Linked DNA regions of Homo sapiens: region 2 is linked to region 1. The links are contacts of gene promoters, found by promoter capture Hi-C in human tissues and cell types (Jung and others, 2019). All regions are on one chromosome and are shown on one strand. Each heading gives the region's core, a stretch centred on a gene start or on the middle of the fragment in contact. The rest is flanking DNA. Distances are from core to core; before and after follow the strand shown.

The links. The method cuts DNA at HindIII sites, captures the fragments that hold promoters and counts their contacts. A contact is called where the count stands out against the background at its distance.
Region 2: a contact is called between a fragment that was not itself captured here and the fragment with the promoter of SEC61G in region 1, in 1 of the 25 tissues and cell types used here (dorsolateral prefrontal cortex).

What each region holds. Positions count from the first base shown.
Region 1 is chr7:54,756,276-54,761,255 of GRCh38, forward strand. SEC61G (SEC61 translocon subunit gamma) reads right to left here and starts at 2,936. Exons shown (of 4, transcript NM_014302.4): 1 at 2,883-2,936; 2 at 1,220-1,319. The coding sequence starts at 1,313. SEC61G-DT (SEC61G divergent transcript) reads left to right here and starts at 3,038. Exons shown (of 3, transcript NR_110040.1): 1 at 3,038-3,249. RefSeq lists a silencer at 2,586-2,905 and an enhancer at 3,139-4,074. The HindIII fragment of the contact is 11,909 bases long and covers 2,138-4,980 here.
Region 2 is chr7:52,820,817-52,825,796 of GRCh38, forward strand. No RefSeq gene overlaps it. Among named protein-coding and RNA genes, the nearest start is that of POM121L12, 210 kb to the right of the region's middle. The HindIII fragment of the contact is 5,936 bases long and covers 1-4,980 here.

The DNA of each region.
Region 1 (4,980 bases), core at 1,686-4,185:
GGGCAGAAACATACCTTTTTTGGGTACATTATAAACGATGGGTCCGGTGCCTTTGCTATTATGATGAAGCCAAAAATAAGACTTGAAAAATCAAACTGGGCTGGGCCCAGTGGCTTGTGCCTGTAATCTCAGCACTTTGGGAGGCCGAAGTGGGCAGATCACCCGAGGTCAGGAGTTTAAGACCAGCCTGGCCAACATGGTGAAACCCTGGCTCCACTAAAAATACAAAAATTAGCCGGGCGTGGTGGCGCATGCCTGTAATCCCAGCTACTCAGGAGGCTGAGGCAGAATTGCTTGAACCCAGGAGGCGGAGGTTGCAGTGAGCCGAGATCGCGTCACTGCACTTCAGCCTGGGCAACAGAGTGAGACTCTGTCTGAGTTGAGCACAATTTTATAAAACATTACACTGGTAATGTTGTCATTTTATGTTACTTCCTAAGAGAAGCTTTCCCTGATCTCCTGACTTGGTTAGTCCTCCTATTATGTGCTGTCAAACTTCCTTCTAGTTATCTTCCATAATACTTAACACAGCAGTAATTAAAAAATATAACCGCAATAATTTGTTTATGACAGTCTTCCTTGGTAAGAGTCTAAGCTCCATGACAGCAAGGACTATTCTCTTTACTATAATATATACATGTTATATACTATATTATATACTATATACTATACTATATATATACTATATACTATATATACTATATACTATATACTATATTATATACTATATACTATATTATATACATGTTATATTCTCTATTATATTACCAGCTCCTAACTCAATGAATGAATAAAAGTAGACAAATTTAACACATGAATCATGATAAATAACAAAATTAACTTTCTAGTTTGGCAAAAACTATATTGTTGGTTTCATGTTAAGGTTTTGTTCGTTGGGGTGGGAGCTGAGTAGGGAGACTTCAAAGCTTTTCCAAAGAGAAAATATGTAAGATACTAAAAGTCATAAAATGTTACTAACTAAAATGTTACATGGAACATAAGGCTGTAATAAATAATCTTACACCATTTGAAAATACATAAAAATTTAGACGAGTAAAAAATTTAGGAAGAAGTGACAACGTTAAAAAGCTGTCGCGCAGGATCAATCAATAAAAATGTTGATCAAAGTAATGCAAGGGCTATTAATCAAGATGTTAATCAAACAAAAGGCTTAGAAAATGCAAAGATTTAATTTTTTCTCTCATAGTCAAGCAATTACCTTTTCTATCAGGTTTAGTGCATCTTTTAACCAGCCGAATGGAGTCCTTTACAAACTGCCGACTTGGCTCAACAAACTGCATTACCTGATCCATGACTGCCTGTTTAAAACAAAAAAGATACTCACTGGTATTGGTTCTCATACAATAAGCACTTGCTCATTTATATAAAGATGTAAATGAGACCAGCCACTGAATTCACGTCTAACATGGGTCAATTCCACCTCCTAAAATAAAACAAAAAACAAACTCCAAAGCCTAAATTGATATTATTTTTGGAAATTTCAGTTAATTATCAAAGGCAATAAGAAAAGCACAGATCTTACTCATGATATCTTCACTGACAAAGAACAGCACACGCAATATAAAAAGCCTATCTCTATTAAAAGGTTAAAAAAGGTTACGCAATTGGTAACACATCCATTCCTTTTCTCACTCTGCAGTCCCATCCATTTCTCATTCTACAGTCCCCTCACCGCTCCTAAGGAACCATCAGTGTTGAGATCCAACAATTACTTTCCATATTTTATTTTAAACTACGCAGAAGCCAGTGTCTTGTACAGTGAATGCCAACTACGGTGCTGCAAGAGCCTAGAATAGAGGCAAACGTGAATTTCAACCTTGATTTTTCTAAAACGTGCCAATACAACATACTTTTCTAAAGTATAAAGAATGGCTAAAGGAAGACGCAAATTCTGAGAAGCTACTAGCTAAATTTCAAACTTTTCGATTTGAACACATCTTTTAAGGAAACAGGGCTATATATTTTACCATACAGGTTCTTTTGAGGAATCTATTACCCAATAGAAATGTTATCCGATCTTAGCTTTGAGAGCCACTGCTATAGTAAGTAAAGCAGCCAGGGTGTTATTTGTATTTTCCTCCATTTCCAGTACTCAGAACAGTGGCCAGGTGGTAGTTCAAATCACTGGCTATGGAATGTAAACCTCTGTAAGCCCCAGTTGCCTTCCTTAGTGTAGGGTGTGGACAACGAAATGAAATAATGTCAATGAAACACCAGGAATTCTGCAACGTTCTGGGGGCAAAAACACAGTAATGTCTGTTTTCTCAGTATTTCACTCAACTTTGCTCTTGAAATCCAAAGGGCTTAAACTTTTTGTAATCATAGTTGTCACGAAGGAAGCTAAGAATTCTTTATCCAGAAAAACGCACGCTACACACAATACCGCACTCAATGTCAGGGGTAGAGATCCAAAAACCAACTATGATCTCTCGAACTAGACTCTAGACCAATGCTCTCACTTTAAACCACGGAAGCGGCGGCAGGACCAGAGCTGAGTACAGCTCTTCCCAGACAGGACTCCACAACAGCACACAGAGCCAACCCCGAAGGGATCGGGCAGCAGGACATCATCTTTGGCTGCAGCACAGAAGACGCCGGGGCAGGACGCTAAGCCCTGGAGCCCCGCGGGCCGGCCACCCAGCTCGCCGGGAGTCCGCGGCCCTGGGTCTGCCTTCCGCCAGAGGCCGAGTTGGTGGGATGTCGGCGGCCAGACCCCGGCCCTGAGCCAGGGGACCACTTACCGCCCGCCCCGCGACGGCCGCCCGGGGAGACACGCCGGCTCGCCCACGCCCGCTGCCCCCAAGAGTCGCAAAGGTGTGGCCGCCCCGTTCGCCCGTACCGACCGGTGGGAAGAAACTCACCTACCCAACCGACACCTAAAATGCCAGGGACACGTAGCACTGGAGCTTGCTGATGGAGGCCCACCGGAACCGGAATCCGGGTTTCTGCCAACAGCCCGCCCACTCCTCCGTCCTATTGGTTCCTTACGCGAAACCTCAGTGCGCAAGCGCAGCGCGACGTGCGCCCGGCCACGCTTCCTGGAAGAGATGCATTGCGGAGCTCGCTAGTTGGGGCGTTGGCCTTCCTTAGGAGTGTGAGTCTAGCGTTATCCCTTTTTTCCGGCTGGATCCCGGGTTACCCCACCAGCCCGACCTCAACCCACTCACGTCCACAGCACGAGCCCCAGCGGCCTTGCGCGGTGCTTGCTCTCTAGTAGCGGCTGACTAGGTAAATCCTAAGTTGTGGTTTTTTTTCCTGCGGTCCAGCTTGATGTGTGTCCTTACGGTACATACTTTTTGTATGTATATAATGTTGGTCGAAATGAAGCTTATGAGCAATATAATGTTATGGCCTAATTCAAAATAGTATCCCCACCCCAAACTTTGACTTTGGCTGTCATTCACGGTAATGAATGCCGCTGTAATTGAGGCCTTTGTCAAACGCTAGGTTTGGTTACGGGAGTGGTCATAATGTACACACAGCTCCCCACTTACCCACAAGGATGCATTCCAGGAACCCCCCGCCGGATGGCTGAAACCGTCAGTAGAGACGGGGTTTCACCATATTGGCCAGGCTGGTCTTGAACTCCTGACCTCGCGATCCACCCGCCTCGGCCTCCCAAAGTGCTGGGATTACAGACGTGAGCCACCGCGCCCGGCCATGTTTCCTTTTAGCAATGGAGCATAACGGGATCTGAGGAACAATATAACTCAGGAAGAGCTGATGGAACATTAAGACGTGTTACAACTCTCAGTGCTTCTTAAACTTCTTCAGTAACTGAAATCTCCTGTTAAGTTTTTTAGTAAATGAAATTTGTAACCCCAGAACCTCCAGATATTGATTCAGTGGGTCAGGGTTAGAGGTCACACACCTCCGTATATCTGACTGTAGGTGGTCCATACACACTACACATACCTTGCCTTAGCTTTAAGAGTCACTTTTAAATTCTGAACAGACTGAGATGCGTTTGACTAGTTCTTCATCCCTGGGACTTCAGCCCATGTGTCATCTCCTTAGAGGCCTATAGTGACCATCTAAGGCAATCCTGTCTATCTCATGCTCTTTTTTCCTTTTTCACAATACCTTCTTCATTTGCTGCATAGCATTTGTATTAACATTTATTTATTTATTCCTCGGTCTGTCTCCCTACACTGTAAATCCCCTTACTAGACCATAAGCTCCAAGTGGGTATAATATAGCATCTAGTAAAGTGCTAAACACAGTAAATGCTCAATAAATAATTTTCAAAAAAATAATTCATTCCAAAAAAACATAAAATCACATGTTGGCAAGTTCACCCCAACCACCAAATGTCTGAGTTGACAGTATTTTCAGCAAAACACAGAAAATCAAGTAACACATACAGTGGTTCCCCTTATCCAAGAAAATCTGGTTCAAAAAGAGATGTGTACCAGAAGGTAATCTGGGAGAGGCCACATTCAAATAACTTTCATTACAGTGTATTGTTATAATTGTCTACTCACCTGATTTCGGGAGTTTGAGACCAGCCAGACCAACGTGGAGAAACCCCGTCTCCACTAAAAATACAAAAATTAGTCTGGAATGGTGTCGCATGCCTGTAACCCTAGCTACTCAGGAGGCTGAGGCAAGAGAATCCCTTGAACCCGGGAGGTGGAGGTTGCAGTGAGCTGAGGTCACACGACTGCACTCCAGCCTGGGCAACAGAGCAAGACTCCGTCTGTAAAAAAAAAAAAAAAAAAAAACAGGCTGATAACAGCAAATCTGTGCAAAAATACGTAACAATCAGAACTCTAGAACTCTAATTCCTGGTTACTAGGAGTGTAAAATGGCATAACCCTTTTGGGAAAAGTTTAGTAGTTTATCATAATATGAAGCATATATACACCACCTATGGCTCCACAATTCCAATTCCAGGTACTTATTGAAGATATATGAAACTAAATTCACAGAAAGACTTGTACAGGAATGTTCGTAGTA
Region 2 (4,980 bases), core at 1,244-3,743, 1.9 Mb before region 1:
TTTCACAGAAATAGAAAAAAATAACAAAATTTGTATTGGACCCCAAACAGTCAAAGCAATTTTAAGAAAATATAACAAAGTCAGTGGGATGACACGCCCTAATTTCAAACTATACTGCAAAACTATAGTAATCAAAACAGCGTGGTACAGGCATAAGGGCAGACATATAGACAAATGAAACAGAATACAGAACCCGGAAATAAACCCATGCATATATAGTAAACTAATCTTTGAAAATGATGCTACAAATACACAATGAAGAAAGCCTCTTCAATAAATATTTTTGAAAAATGGATGTTCATGTGGAAAAGAATAAATTTAGACCCTTTTCTTAAACCATATATAAACGTTAACCTGAAATGGATTAAAGACTTAAATGTCAGATCAGAAATTGTGAAATTTTCAGGGAAAATATAGGAAAGAAGTTCTTTGCCATTGGTCTTGGTAATAATATTTTAGTATATGACACCAATAGCACAGGAAACAATAGCAAAAATAAACAAGTTAGTTACTTCCAAGATACAACTGGGTTACAGGCATTGGATAAATGCTTCTATTCCACCTGGGAGAAATTGGCCAAAACAAAGGCTCTACAGGGCCCATGCAAGTCCGAAACCCAGAAGGCAGTCATTAAATCTTAAAGCTCAAAAATAATCTCCTCTGATTCCATGTCTCACATCCAGGGCACGTTGATGCAAGAGGTAGGCTCCCAAGGCCTTTGGCAGCTCTGCCTCTGTGGCTGTACAGGGTACAGCACCCACAGCTGTTTCATGGGTTGGTGTTGAGTGCTTGCAGCTTTTCCAGGTGCATGGTGCAAGCTGTTGGTGGACCTACTATTCTGGGGTCTGGAGAACAGTGTCCCTCTTCTCACAGCTCCACTAGGCAATGCCCCAGGGGGGACTATGTTTGGGGTCTCCAACCCCACATTTCCCCTCTGCACTGCCCTAGTAGAGGGTCTCCAAGAGGGTTCCACCTCTGCCGCAGACTTCTGCCTGGACATCCAGGTCTTTCCATACATCCTCTGAAATCCAAGCATAGGTTTCCAAGCCTCAACTCTTGCCTTCTGTGCACCTGCAGGCCCAATACAACATGGAAGCTGTCAGAGCTTTGGGCTTGCACCTTCTGAAGCAATGGCCTGAGCTATATACCTTGGCCCCCTTTAGCCATGGATGGAGCTGGAGCAACTGGGACACAGTGTGCCATGTTCCAAGGCTGCAAAGAGAAGCAGGGACCTGGGCCCGGCCTGCGAAACCATTGTTCCCTCCTAGGCCTCCAGGCCTGTTATGGGAGAGGGTGCTGCAAAGATCTCGGAAATGCCCTGGAGACATTTTCCCCATTGTCATGGCTATTAACGTTTAGCTCCTCATTTACTTATGCAAGTTTCTGCAGGAGGCTTGAATTTCTTTTCAGAAAATGGGTTTTTCTTTTCTGAAACATACTCAGGCTACAAACTTTCCAAACTTTTATGCTCTGCTTCCCTTTTAAACATAAGTTCCAATTTCAGACATCTCTCTGTGAATGCATATGACTGTATGCTGTTATGAGCAGCCAGGGCACATTTTGAATGCTTTGCTGCTCAAAGATTTCTTCCACCAGACACCCTAAATCATCTCTCTCAAGTTCAAAGTTGCACAGATTCCTGGGGCAGGGGCACAAGGCCACCAATCTCTTTGCTAAAGCATAGCAAGAGTGACCCTTACTCCAGTTCTCAGTAAATTCCTCATCTCCATCTGAAACCACATCAGCCTGGACTTTATTGTCCTTATCACCATTAGCATTTGGTCACAATCATTCAACAAGTCCCTGGGAAGTTTCAAACTTTCCCACATCTTTCTGTCTTTTTCAGAGCCCTCCAAACCCTTCTAACCTCTGCCCATTACCCAGTTTCACAGTTTCTTTTCACATTTTCAGGTGTCTTTATAGCAGTGCCACACTCCCCTGGTACCAATTTTCTGTGTTAGTCCATTTTTACACTGCTGTAAAGAACTACCTGAGACTGGGTAATTTGTGAAGAAAAATTTAATTCACTGACAGTTCCACAGGCTTTCCAGGAAACATGACTGTGAGGCCTCACAAAACTTTCAATCATGGTGGAAGGTGAGGAGAGGCAAGGATCTTCTTCATATGGCATCAGGAGAGAGAGAGAGTGAAGCAAGAACTGCCACACAGTTTTAAGCCATCAGATCTTGTGAGAACTCACTCACTATCAGGAGAACAGCAAGGCTGAAGTCTGTCCCCATAATCCAATCACCTCACACTTGGCCCCTCCTCCAATTTGACATGAGATTTTGGCAGGGACACAAATCCAAAGCGTGTCAGTCTTGGTAATAACTTTTTTTGTATATGACACCAAAAGCACAGGAAACAAAAGCAAAAGTAAACAAGTAGGGTTACATTAAACTACAAAGCTTTTATAGAGCTAAAGAAACAAACAAAATTAAAAGGCCACCTAAGATATGCGAGAAAATATTTGCAAACCATATATCTGACAAGGGATTAATATCCGAAATACATATGGAACTCACACAACTTTGTAACAAAATAATAATAATAATATTTTAAAATGAGCAAAGGTCCTGAATAGACAGCTTCCCAAAGAAAGCAAATAAATGATCTGGTATATGAAAAAGGTACTAAATATCGCTAATCATTAAGAATATGCAAATCAAACAAAATATCACTTCATACTTGTCATGCTTGTTAGGATGGCTATTATCCAAATGAAAAAAGGATAAGTGTTAGCAAAAGTGTGGATAAAAGGGATCCTTGTACACTTCTGGTAGTAATGTAAATTGGTACATCCATTATGAAACAGTATAGGGTCTGCTGACAATTTTTAAAATAGGACTACCATATGATCAAGCAATAAAAAAGAAATGAAATATGTACATTGAAAAGGTGTGATATAGTTTTGCTCTGTGTCCCCACCCAAATTTCATCTTGTAGCTCCCATAATTCCCACATGTTGTGAGAGGGACCTGGTGGAAGATGATTGAATTATGAGGGCAGGTTTTTCCCATGTTGTTCTCATGATAGTGAATAGGTCTCAGGAGATCTCATGGTTTTAAAAGCACCAGTTGCCCAGCACAAGCTCTCTCTTTCCCTGCTGGCATCCACGTAAGATGTAACTTGCTCCTCCTTGCCTACCATCATGATTGTGAGGCCTCCCCAGCCTCAAGGAACTGTGAGTCCAATTAAACTTCTTTCTTTTGTACATTGCCCAGTCTCAGGTATGTCTTTATAAGCAGCATGAAAATGAACTAATACAAGGAGTCTGCACCCTCATGTTCATTGTAGCATTGTTCACAATAATCAAAATATGAAAACAAGCAAAGTGGCCATCAGTGGATGAGTGAAGAAAGAAAATGCAATCTATATGTATGTATGCACGCACACACACACACACACACAGAGAGAGAAAAAGAGAGAGAGAGAGGAGAGAGAGGAGAGAGAGAGAGAAAGGGAGATACAATGGAATATTATTCAGCCATAAAAGAAATCTGGTTATCTGTGACAACATAGGTGAAACTAGAGGACGTTACACCTAGTGAAATATGACAGACACAGAAATACAAATATAACATGGTCTCACTTATTTGTGGTATCTAAAAAAGTTAAACTTATAGAAGCAGAAGTAGAACAATAGCTTCCAGGGGCTGAGGGGTAGGGGGAATGGAGAGATGTTGATCAAAGGCACAACATTTTACTTATACAATGAATTAGTTCTAGGGATATAATGTCCAGTATGGGTGGTGATGGATGTGTTAATTAATTTGATTGTGATATTCAATATACTATATATATATATGTGTGTGTGTGTGTGTGTGTATATCAAAGCATTGCATTGTATACTTTGAATATATACAATACTATTTGTAAATTAAATATTTTTACAAATGTTTGCAAAAATATTTTAAAAATATATTTAATATATTTAATAAATATATTAAATCTATAATATATTTACACATATTAAATCAGTACATTAAATCCAGATGAGGATAGAGAAGTGAAAATTATATAATTAATACTATTTACATCCCTGCAGTTTTCAAATTACATAAAGGAACATAAATTCTCATATAAGGTCCGAATAGAGATTAATATAAATAGTAGCTTCCACTAGAAAGTGGGATTTGAGGATTACATTAAGAGAATGATGCGCTCCAAGAGGCTCCACATTCTTATAGTAGTACTTGTGGGGTTTTGAGCACACAAAGTATATCAGCAAAATGTGTGCCATTGCTTAAATAGAAATATCTGACATATGAAATAGAACTCTTTAGACTTTGTAACACATCTGTCAAATCATCTTATTTGTTGTTAAAGATTTTCTTTGGTTCTATAAAAGAACAGGAAGGGAAATGTCACTGTAGCTTTTGAGAGAGGGAAAGAGAAAGAGAGAGAGGGGGAGAAAAGTCTTACATGAGATCAATTGCCAATATAACCATTCAGAGACATTTATCGTGTAAAAGGTGGATTTGTATTGATTTCCTATTAAAGCTGTGAAAGTATGATTCAATTTTTAATGATACTATGAATTATGTATTGCTGTCAGGCTCTTTTTAGGTGATCATATTGAAACAAAATAGAGGCATTTTAAAGCATTCAACATAACATCTCACTTCTCCAAGATGAAATTATTTATTTTGAAGTTACTGCAATGATATGTTTTTATTTTTCATTTTTAGACTTCATTTTTTCATGAATCCTTTCAAGTTTATGTCTTGAGATTACTACATCAAAATCCAGCAATCATACCAAGAAATGATGAGGAGTCAAGTCAGTACAAATTAGTGGAAAAGCAGATTTTATACATTTTAAAGGAAATACATTGTTCTGGTTTGGAGCCAAAGTAAAGCTATCCTCATGTCATTTGTTTTGATGATTTTGAAAAATGGTGAGACTTCTAGGTCAGGTAATAGAAACAGATTTCTGCCAGTTACGCTTACATAGGTATTTAGGTTTTCTCATAGATGG